Linked DNA regions of Homo sapiens: region 2 is linked to region 1. The links are contacts of gene promoters, found by promoter capture Hi-C in blood cells and fetal thymus (Javierre and others, 2016). All regions are on one chromosome and are shown on one strand. The core of a region is centred on a gene start or on the middle of the fragment in contact, and the rest is flanking DNA. Distances in the headings are between cores, read along the strand shown. Region 1 holds the start of PTPN13 (protein tyrosine phosphatase non-receptor type 13). Region 2 has its middle 74 kb from the start of KLHL8.

The links. The method cuts DNA at HindIII sites, captures the fragments that hold promoters and counts their contacts. A CHiCAGO score of 5 or more calls a contact.
Region 2: a contact is called between a fragment that was not itself captured here and the fragment with the promoter of PTPN13 in region 1, in 1 of 17 cell types (erythroblasts). The highest score is 5.6, in erythroblasts.

The regions. Positions count from the first base shown.
Region 1 is chr4:86,592,614-86,598,586 of GRCh38, reverse strand. PTPN13 (protein tyrosine phosphatase non-receptor type 13) reads right to left here and starts at 4,272. Exons shown (of 48, transcript NM_080683.3): 1 at 3,798-4,272. It also overlaps a transcript of MAPK10 not described here. RefSeq lists an enhancer at 4,035-4,621. The HindIII fragment of the contact is 4,151 bases long and covers 2,707-5,973 here.
Region 2 is chr4:87,144,027-87,149,296 of GRCh38, reverse strand. No RefSeq gene overlaps it. Among named protein-coding and RNA genes, the nearest start is that of KLHL8, 74 kb to the left of the region's middle. The HindIII fragment of the contact is 1,226 bases long and covers 928-2,153 here.

The DNA of each region.
Region 1 (5,973 bases), core at 3,023-5,522:
ATGATTTGAGTAGTTATAGGTTTTTGTGATTATTTAATTTTTTAAAGAAAATTGGCAAGGAAGGAAGCAAACTAAATACTGTCAGCTTGCACTTAAACCACATTTGCACATATTAATTTCATCCTCAAAATACCTTGAGAGGGACCAGGCACGGTGGCTCACGCCTGTAATCCCAGCACTTTGGGAGGCTGAGGCAGGCCGATCGCTTGAGGTCAGGAGTTCAAGACCAGACTGGCCAACATGGCAAAACCTCGTCTCTACTAAAAATATAGAAATTAGCCAGGTGTGGTAGCACACGCCTGTAATCCCAGCTTACTAAGGAGGCTGAGGCAGGAGAATTGCTTGAACCCAGGATCGGGGGCAGAGGTTGCAGTGAGACAAGATTGTGCCACTGTATTCCAGCCTGGGCGAGATTCCATCTTAAAAAAAAAAAAAGCACAACAAAGCAAAAAAGCCTTGAGAAGTATATATTATTAAATTATTAAAAATAAACTTAGTCTCTAGGATTTGGATACATATTTGTCAGACAGCAGTCCTCCACACTTTTTATACTATGCAGAAGGATTTTCTTTGAGACAGTTTGTTTCAGAGAATTTTCATACTTTTCCAGTGTGAAAACAAATCAAAACAAAACAAAAATTAAAAAAGCAGGATTCAATGGCAGAGCACAGGATAAGGCAAACACATCTAAACAAGCACTTGAACCAGACCCTGTTCCTGTATTTCCCATGCATTTGATAGCAAACTCTGGGAAAAACATGTGAAGTTTATGGTTTAAATCTACACCAGCCTCTATACAAGATTATTTAGGAATTCTTCTCTTTTTATCCTAAGAAATGGCCCACCTACTGCCTTACTATTAGTGACAGTCACACATTCTTGGGAACAGGGTTGGGCAGGATAGAGCAGGGTGCTTATTCACAGTGCCTGACACTAAACAAGAATAAGGGTCTTAAAGGTGTTTTCATTTTCTTCCCAAACTCAAAGGATTATTAGAACTCCACCTCCCAAAGCAGTTTACAGACGGGAGTTTTGATGGGACATTTACAGCTAGTATGAAACTTTCAACTTTAACTTAAGCCATTAAAAGTCCTACATTAATGTACTCATTAAAAGCTATCTTTTAGCCTTGGTCAATACAGCGAGACATTGTCTCTATTTAAAAAAATAAAATAAACAAAATTAGCTAGGTGTGGTGTTGTACACCTGTGGTACCTGCTACTTTGGGGGCTGAGTTAGGAGGATTGCTTGAGCCTGGTAAGTTGAGGCAGCAGTGAGCCATGATCGAGCCACTGCATTCCAAACTGGGCAACAGAGACCCTATCTTAAAAGCTATCTTTAAAACATTTAGTTCCTAAGTTATTTGACCCATTTTAATTTTCAAATTAAAAGAGAGTTTTTCAGGGAAAAAAAAAAAAAAGGAAGCCCAGCCCAAAAGATTCTCGTCATTTCCATCAGCACTGATTCTTCTATCCTAAGGCCCATTATCTTTTCTCCTTTCTCAGGCCCCTACCTTGTAAAGTGATATTAACTCAAATGAGTCGTACTTGGTTGCATCAGAGGCAAACAGGAGAATACTTTGAACTACACAGAGTTCTCCCAAAGCATATTCCAAAACAAGAATATGTTGACAGGAGTAACTACTAAATGCACTGGCTTGGAGTATGGTTGTGTTTCTTTTTCATTTCAAATGGTGTTAATTATAATTTAATTATGCATAAAAATGTTTTGGGGTTTATTTAAAAATTACACCCTCTGTCAAAAGAAGAGGGTGAAGAGGAAAAAAAAGAAGTAATAGTTTATCCCTTACAGTCCTTCTCTCCAGTACATTTGGGGCTGGGCACTAAGATGAGCTGGAAAAATATACACCCCATTGATACGGGAGAAGCTACAACACTTCCCCATCCAATCCTTAACACATTAAAGACAGAACAAATCAACACCCGTTTTTCTCAATAACAAAGAATACATAAATTTCATTCATTTAAAGATGAACACCTATCATTTATATTATCTACTCCAAAACAAATGATTAGCTAATTCTCACATTCACATACCGTATTTAGGAGGCAGCCCTCAAAAACAACAACAAAAAGATGACCTAAGTTTTATAACGTGACCCCATCATAGAATTAAAATCTGACTTTTAAATTGACACTGGTTTTAATGGTGTGCGTGTATGTTACTTGTGACATGAAAAGCCATTTATATTTTTGGATGCTGGTAATCACCCTCCAAAATATAACTAGGCTTTACATGCAAGTAAAAATGGTGGGACAAATGCAAATTCAAAGATAAACCTACATAATGGTAAAGCAAGCTATCATTCTCTAATTGTAAAAGTGAAAAACACTATGAAATCAGTCCTTTTCTTAACAACTAACCTCAAATATTTTTCTGTTTTTAGTTCTAATTTCCATCCTATCCTCTCCCCACACATACTCCCACAAAGCCTCTAGAACATCAAGTAGAACACAATGTTATGAACAAAGTATAATAAACAAGATTGGACGTCAGTCAGTGCGCCTCTGTATAAATTTACTAAATCAATATATGTATGAATTTACTAACAAATGCTCCTAGTGATATTAAAACGAGAAATAATTTGTATATTGGCACCACTACAAGCAGCCAATGAGCATGAAGCAAGTTTTCACCTGGACCCTGCCAACACAGTCATGAAGACTTTAGGAAAATACCTAAGCTTGTTTCATAATACATGCACTTTTACTCCCCCCCCCATCCTTTAGTAAACTTTCTAGATATAAATTTTAAAATCTTAAAATTTATAATTAGTTACCAGCGCCCTTCATCCCACAGATCAGGTGTCCTACATTTTGTTCAGGTCCTGCCTTGAAAACAAACCCGATTGCCCCATTTTCTGCGAGGGAGCTCAGCTCCAGGCAGCTCCCTATGAAGTCACCGCGTTTGTTGTTTCAAAGATGCAATTAAATGAAAATGACACAAGGCTGTCGAACAGATTAGTTGGAAGTGTGCGGTGGTGTCGATCATATACGTGTATGGCCAATGAAAACTGTATTGCTGTAAATCTCTTAGTGATATTTCTCCCCATCCTCCTCTCTCCATTATATTCACAACAGAAGGAAATTAAACTTTGTAAGAATTTTCTTGACTTTGGTTTAACTTTAGCTTCCCAGCTGTCTGCTCTTACAGTATCACGTAATGAGCAAAGCGGTGGGGCTAGGGGGCCGGAGGGTAGAGTGTTAACTTTAGCAAGCAGAAGAAAAGCAATAAAAGACCTTGCATCAGACAGTGTCTCTCCCTCTGCCCCCTCTTCCTCTGCTTCCCCGCCATCCCACCCCCTTCTCGAGCCCTTACACACACATTCTTCTGGGCGGCCTCTAACCACACCATCTCCACAATCATTTGCAGAAATTAGAAACAGACTCCGGGAGCCCTTCCCTTAAGCACGCACAGAGCGGAGCTGTGCAAGCACGACGGGGCAATGTCACTCCCTATTACCCCACAATCTCTTACTCCCCCTGTGGGTTTCATTCCCGAGAATCCGGCTTTCTTCCGCAGAGGAGATGGATCTACCTAATTAGCAATGGAGTTTCATCTCATTCTTCCCCACTCCAGTCACCCCACCCCCACTCTAACGTACAAAAACACCCACCACCAAAACCAAAGAAAAGTTCCTTCTACCAGGGCAACCGAGGAGTTGGGTTTAGGGACTGGAGCGAAAGCAGAGAGAGGAGGAAGAGAACGAGCGCAATGTACTTTGTTTTGCACTTCTGCACATGCAGCGCAGAGCCCAGGGCGGCTCTCGTCCTTACCGGCTGGTCCCGAGACCGGGTCCTGCTACTGGAGCGCCGGGCGAGGGCTGCAGGGACGCGGCGTCGGGGCGGGCCGCCGGCAGCCGCCGCGGGCGCCGAGAGCCACCACCACTTCTCCCACAAGCGGCTGCGGGCGTGGGCTGAAGGAGCTGTAGAAGGAGCCTGGGGAGGGGGAGAAGAGGAGCAGCATCTCCTCCTCCTCCTCCTCGCCTCGGAAACGCTCCCCAGCGGCGATCCCGGCCGACTGCCTGACCCCCGAGCGCTCAACGCACCCCCGCCGCCCTACTGTGCTCGACGCCTCTCCAAGAGCTTCGCCAAAACCTTCTGGCGCGGGCGGCTCAACTCCTGTAGGCGACTCTGACCGCTGCCGAGGCGGACCGGGGAGCTACGGAGCACGGCTCGCCAGCACGACGGTCTCCAGGGGCCGTGAGCATGGTGTGTCACCCTCGCCTCAGCGTGGCCGCTGGAGCTACTCGCACCACTGGGGCTCCACCTCGGGCAGCCGCGCCGGCTCCGCCCCCCCGGTCCTGTCACTCAACCATTCCCCGGCACTGGGAGGACCGCAGATCTCCCACCCCGAGCTCCCCTCGACCTCATTGGCCCGCCTGGCATCCAGCTCCACCTCCTCCCTAGGGACGAGGTCGCCAGGGAGACCAGCGCCCCGGTTGCCATGACAACCAGTGCCTTGGGCCTGGCTTTTCGCGTTCTTCGGACTAGCCAGAGGCTCAGGTTGGTGACCGAGCGGCAGAGTTCCTAGCGCCTGCAGTGTGGTGAACTCCAACTTTTAGGCCAAGTTGAAAATGCAGCCGACGACCCCCACACTTCTAACTTCAGAATCAAAACTATGACCCTAGGGAGTGAGGAGGAGAGTGAAAAATGCGTAAGTGCTGGCTCCTCCCTTACTCTTCGCTGCCTCTCAGCCTTGTTTCTATATTCTCACGGGGCGCTTTGGTCTTTGAAAGGAAGAGGAGAATGGGGGAGAGGAAGAGCATGGCTTTGCCAGCTCCTTGCAGCAATATAGCAACTTAGAAATGGCGGGGTCAACGAAAAAAGCCCGGTGAGTTTTCCCACGGTTGTAAAGCTATCTTCAAAAGTGTGGTGACAGCACAACGCCAAATGCCCTAGGGAAAACTGAAATTCTCATATTTTTGAAAAAAGTTTGTAAATACTTGCCTTGTTATTTTATCTATGAGACTAAAATAATCCCGAAGTTTGAAAATTTAAGGAAAAGGTTTAACATAGTCGATAACCTCCCACTTTTCTATATACACTGAAATTTGGCCAAGGTATATCCAGACAGCTGTACCCCTCCTTGCTGCAAGCCGAAATATTTGAGTTTCAATAGTTAAACAAGAGAGTCTTGCTGAATTCATGAACAAATAATATCCTGTGATTTGAGTTTTGAAAGTTTTGGGTTATTCTCAGAGGTATAAGGTAAACTGGTCCACTCTGGAAAGGGTACCTGAAGATAAATTTAGTCTGAGACCCTTAATGTTGAGCCCTAGGTAAATCTGAATTTCATGGCTGGCTCCAAAGTGGAGAGATCTGAGGCTTATTTGGCTTCCCCAAAAAAAGTCAAAGCAGCAATCCTAGGTTCCCTAGCCCCTGAGGCTGCCATACATGTATGATGAATGAGGGAATTAATAGTAATGATTTATCTTTGGCGAGCACTTGAGTTTTCATTATATCATTTACTAAATGAATAACTATGATAGATATCTTCAGTCAAATATGCCTTACAAGTATGCATTGAATGTGATTACTCATAGGGCTAAACACAACGGAAAATACACAGCAGGATTTTAAGCTAAGTCCCCGCTCCCAAGGAGCTAACCTGGAGCCTAAGAAAGAAAACTAGCACTCTTGAAACAATTTGAGAACAATTATAGCTAAAATGTGCAGCCAAACTTTGAGTAGGTAGCAGCTAAGAGAAAGTTTGCTATGTAAAATGGGCTGGATTCCTCAGTTTATGGAAGAGGGGAATTTACACTGGGCTTTGATGAATGCAGCAAAGATGAGGAAAGTCAGTTGAGGGGAACAACAAAAACTAAACAGCAGCAGCAGGGATAAGTGGTGAAAGTAAATAACAGGCCAGGCTCCTTGGATGGGAAACACAAGTGGATGATTGGAGCCCTTTTCTCAGTTCTTCCCCCATTTTTAAATGTTCTGGATCATC
Region 2 (5,270 bases), core at 291-2,790, 550 kb before region 1:
TGTTTTGGAGCCAAGTCTGATGAGTTATTTATGTGGATAGTATTGTTTAACTCTTTGTAGAAAAGCAACCATAAAATAAATAGGATGTACCTATGCTTGCACATAGTTCTGAAGACAGTTTTTTTTGTTGTTGTTATTGTTGTTTTTGAGACAGAGCCTTGCTCTGTCGCCCAGGCTGGAGTACAGTGGCGCAGTCTAGGCTCACTGCAACCTTCGCTTCCCGGGTTCAAGCGATTCTCTTGCCTCAGCCTCCTGAGTAGCTGGGACTACAGGTGTGTGCCACCACATCTGGCTAATTTTTGTATTTTTAGTAGAGACAGGGTCTCACCATGTTGGCCAGGCTGGTCTCAAACCTCTGACCTCGTGATCCGCCCACCTCGGCCTCCCGAAGTGCTGGGATTACAGGCGTGAGCCACTATGCTGGGCCCTGAAGGCAGTTTTAAATAATTTTGTTGTAAATTTGTTTTGAACTGTGGTAATACATGTGAAGAAACCACCAAGATGATTTTAAAGGACAGTGGTCTTTTTAATAAGTTCTGTGTATCTTTTTAGATTTTAATACACCATCTTTAACAGGGAAATATTTGATTACCAGTATCTTTATCTCATACACTTCAGGATATCATATTTCAACTCCTTCCTTTTTTCTTACAGATGAGGAAATATAGTACCAGACATTCATGTAACTTGTGCAAGGTAAAGGATGGTAATTCAGTGCCATATTTTTTATTTCTGGTTGGCTGTTTTGCCTGGACAGTGTAAGGCAGGTGAGGGGGCCAAGGCATTCAAACTTCAGGGTCACTAGCTTCAGAATTAAAGTTTTATTCTGCCCCTATACTCTCAAACTTGGAGGACCCTGGGGGAATTTATACTCTTGCCTGTTTCAGTTACTATTTCTTATTTCCTGGGATTTTACCCATTAAAGCTTAGTTTACATTATTCATGACTTAAAAACATTTACTTTATGCTCATTTCTTGAAATGTGTGTTACACTAACATTTACTTGTGTTTTATTAAACTTTTATTTATTAATACATGTCTTCATGCAAATAAGGAAAGAAAAACTATCAATTTTAGCTGTCACTAGAGGTGCACTAGTGTCTTGACTAGTGCTGGTAAATGGAGAAAATCCACAGGGCAACATGGAAAGCAGCATTGGATGGGGTGATCCCCCATGTGCTTCTAATGATGCATTAGAAGAGTTGCTAATCACTGCAGATTTTTAGGACTTCTTTCTCAAGCTCCAGTTTATAAAGCCTCTAAGGCCTATTAACAGTCCAGTCTTATTACCTGTCTAATTGTCTATAGTACAATCCAAAAGTGGTTAAATGGTAACAGTGTTTAAGACTGGCTGCAGATTACATTAAAGCAACTTATAAAACCACATTTTCACTAGTTTATTCTCACAAGCAAAACCCCCTTCGTAACTTGAAGTCAGACAAATCTGTATCATCTGAGCTTCACCTTTTACTGGCTCCCTAACCATGGACAGATTACAGTTGTCCCTCTGTTGTTGGGTTCTGCATCTATGGATTCAACCCACTGTGAATTGCAAATAATTGAGGGCATGGGGGTGGCGAAAGGGATGGTGTTGCATCCGTTCTGAACAGGCACAGACTTTCATACTGTCATTCCCTAAACAATGTAACAACTATTTACATAGCATTTACATTTTATTAGGAATTATAAGTAATCTAGAGATGATTTAAAGTATAGGGGAGGATGTGTGTAGATTATATGAAAATACTTCACCATTTTATATCAGGGACTTCAGCATCCTTGGATTTTGGTATGGGGGAAAATCCAGGATCCAATCCCCCATGGATACCAAGGGATGACTGTACTTATCTTGGGCTCACGTGTCATCTGTAAAGCATAATGACTAATTTGAAAGAAAGATGGTTTCAAAGTACAAGCAATGGAAGGTACGTAGGGCATGTGGCTTCATATATACTTCTTTCCCCTTCTCCACAATTTTACTTTTTTAGGTCAGTGTTGTGCTATAATGACGGGAATGTATCATGGATGTAGGAAAGGGGAAAATGCTGGTTGACTCTGTTTTGCTGTGGGGAATTCCAGACAAATACATAGGTACAAGAGGAGTGCTGTCCTCCACCTGTCAGATAAACTGGCTTATGCTCTGCTCTCAAGCTTGAAATAATCTGAACAGTGGGTCCACAGGGTGCTAGTTTTAGAATAGTGACATCTGTGTTAAGAGGAATGGCTGAAAGCAGAGACAATGGCTAGTTGAATGGAAAAACACCAGGTCTCAAGTTACCTGTAACTTGGGTAGAGACATGTCATCCAGGAGCTGGGCACCCTAACCTATGCTTTAATGCCTACACACATACTGAAGCATGTAATTTTACACAAAGGAATCACTGAAACTATTGATTGGATGTGAGTAAATTTCACAAGGACAAGAAACCAGTCTCCTCTTTTTAACCTTCATTCAAGATAAGCAAATATCAGGTTAATAGGACTATAGTTAAGTTCAGGACTGACATTTGGCAAACAATTTTAGATTTGATCTCTCTAGGCCATAAAGACAATCCATGATGAAATTCATATTCATTCAGTGGGTTTCAAAACTGCCAATGTTAAACAGCTTCCACTTTATCCAGAATAAATATCATTTGCTTGGACAAGTAGTAAAAAGATATTAGTGGAGCTTCAAATGCCAAAGATCCTGAGTTGGTGACACACATAAAGTCTCACTCAAGGATTGATCATTTTTTCCTGTAGCATTTGTAAGAAGAAAGGTAAAGGTGGGAACTGTTGTAAGCAGCTCACAGGTGATACCTACTGAGGTGTAGGCAGTGGAGCAAACTCAGGAAGAGTCATGCAGTTGACTGGAGGCAATCAACCTTGTACAACCTTCTTACTCTACAAACTAGTAGGCAAAAGACAATCTCAGAAAATGAACTAAGTACAGGAATAGGCAATCCATAAAGTCACACAAATGACCAATGGACTTGTGATAAAATGGTTCACTTCATTTGTCAGATAAATGCAATTAAAGTACTGTAAGATTTGTTTTTTGCACTGCACTCACGACTGGCAAAAATGTAAGATCATCTGCAGTTGGTGGGGAAGGTAGTTTGGTAACATCAAATTTGTTTTTTTGAGACAGTCTTGGCTCTGTCGCCAGGCTGGAGTGCAATGACGCAATCTCGGCTCACTGCAACCTCCACCTCCTTGGTTCAAGTGATTCTTCTGCCTCAGCCTCCCAAGTAGCTGGGAGGACAGGTGCGTGCCACCACGCCCAGCTAATTTTTTTTTTTTTTTTTTTTTTTTGTATTTTTAGTAGAGACAGGGTTTCACCATGTTGGCCAGGATGGTCTTGATCTCTTGACCTTGTGATCCACCTGCCTCAGCCTCCCAAAGTGCTGGGATTACATGTGTGAGCCACCACACCCGGCCTGTAACATCAAAAATTTAAAATTTAGCTTATGCTTTGACCCAGACATTTCCCTTCCAGGAATTTATCCTATAGAATACTTGTAAGAATGTACAAAGATGTTGTGTACTACGATTCCTTCAGTACATTGTTGTAACCACAGAATATTGTGGGGAGGAGTGACTTGTGCCCATAATGGGAAAATGTTTAAATAAATGGTGGCATATCTTATTACATGGTACTTTGTAGCCAAAATATGCTGGACATTGAAAAAGGACTGATACACAGTGTAAAAAACAATGCACAGAAAAGTTGTAGAAAGATAGATACGCACGAACTTAATGGCCGTAGAATCTGGGGAGGAAGTACACTTGCCCTTTCACTTTTTGCTCTGTATGCCTCTATATAGTTGTCCCTTGGTATAAGTGTGGGGTTGGTTCCAGGATCCCCACAAATACCAAAATCCATGGATGCTTAAGTCCCTTTGTAAAATGGCACAATATTTGCATATAACCTCTGCACATCCTCCCATATACTATAAATCATCTCTACATTACTTTCAATACCCAATACAATAACTACACATCACTTCATTCGCGTGGATGCAACACAGTACTTGGCACATGGCAAATTCGTTTTGTCTTTTAGAACTTCGTGGGAATTTTTCACCCTGAATATTTTCTATCTCCGTTGAATCCACCAATGCAGCACCCATGGATATGGAAGGCTAACTGTAATTTGTTTTACTATTTATTTGTAAATCAGCTTAAAAATAGGATGGAAAAATTACATTCTCGTGTATATGTAAGCTTGGGAAGCTCTTTAAAACCACTCTACCAGGATCACTTGCTTCTTCCCTTGAGATTGTGAATTCCTCAGTTGCAGTCCTGGGTACCAAGTTTTACCTGCACAAGGAGTTTCTTCAAAGATTGTAGTTCAAAGATGGAAAACTAAAGGCATTTTTCTGTAGTTCATTCAGTTGAGCACGACTGGTTTTCCACATCCAGTAGTGTGAGTATTCCTAAGAAAATATGTGCTCATGCACCTTTTTTGAGAAGGGGTTGGTAGTGTTTCTTAGAGGATAATTTATAGGAATAGTTAGCAGTGAAGATATCAGAACCTGTAATTGTTTCTTCCTCCTACACATGAAATAAGGTAAATGAGATGTTAGGACTGGGCCTCCATAATAGAGAAGGGTGATTTAAAGCACTTATCCAGGGGAGGCACATGGTCTTTTTAAAGCTAAAATAGAATTGTGTGTTCAAAGAGCATTTCAAGGCCTGCCCTCAGTCTGTTGGAAGGGCAAAGTCCCTTATTATCAGAGCCTTGGTGTCTCAGTACAGTCTTGCTTTCAGCTGAGTGTGGTCTACTGGAAAACCACAAACGCTGAAAGAGTCCTGTTCCTCAGACAAAACAGACTAGACAGTACAATTATCTAATCACTACCAAAGTAACAGCAGATAAACCTCCGATTATATTCTGGTAAAGACACATGGGGCTTCAAAGTTATTTGGAATGGATTTGAGGGTTCTAAGCACCACCTAGATGACTTACTTAAAAGTAGCCTGGATTGTGACCATTTACATTCCTGACAACCCTGGCAAATAGTGAGCCAGTACCTATTCAAATAATGCAGGCTCCAAAAGTGCCTAGATACTTGCGAATACAATAACACAAAGGGAGACTACCACTTTAACCTCACAGAGTAGTTGCCAGTATTCAGTGATAGTAAAACTGCCTTGTACAGCATCTGGGAAATAGTCTGTATGCACCTTATGGAGACATCAAAAGTCGGCAAGGACACTGCCGACTTAAATTTTTTTTTTAAAGCCCAGCATAATACAAATAAAAAACTTAATTTGGAGAGAAA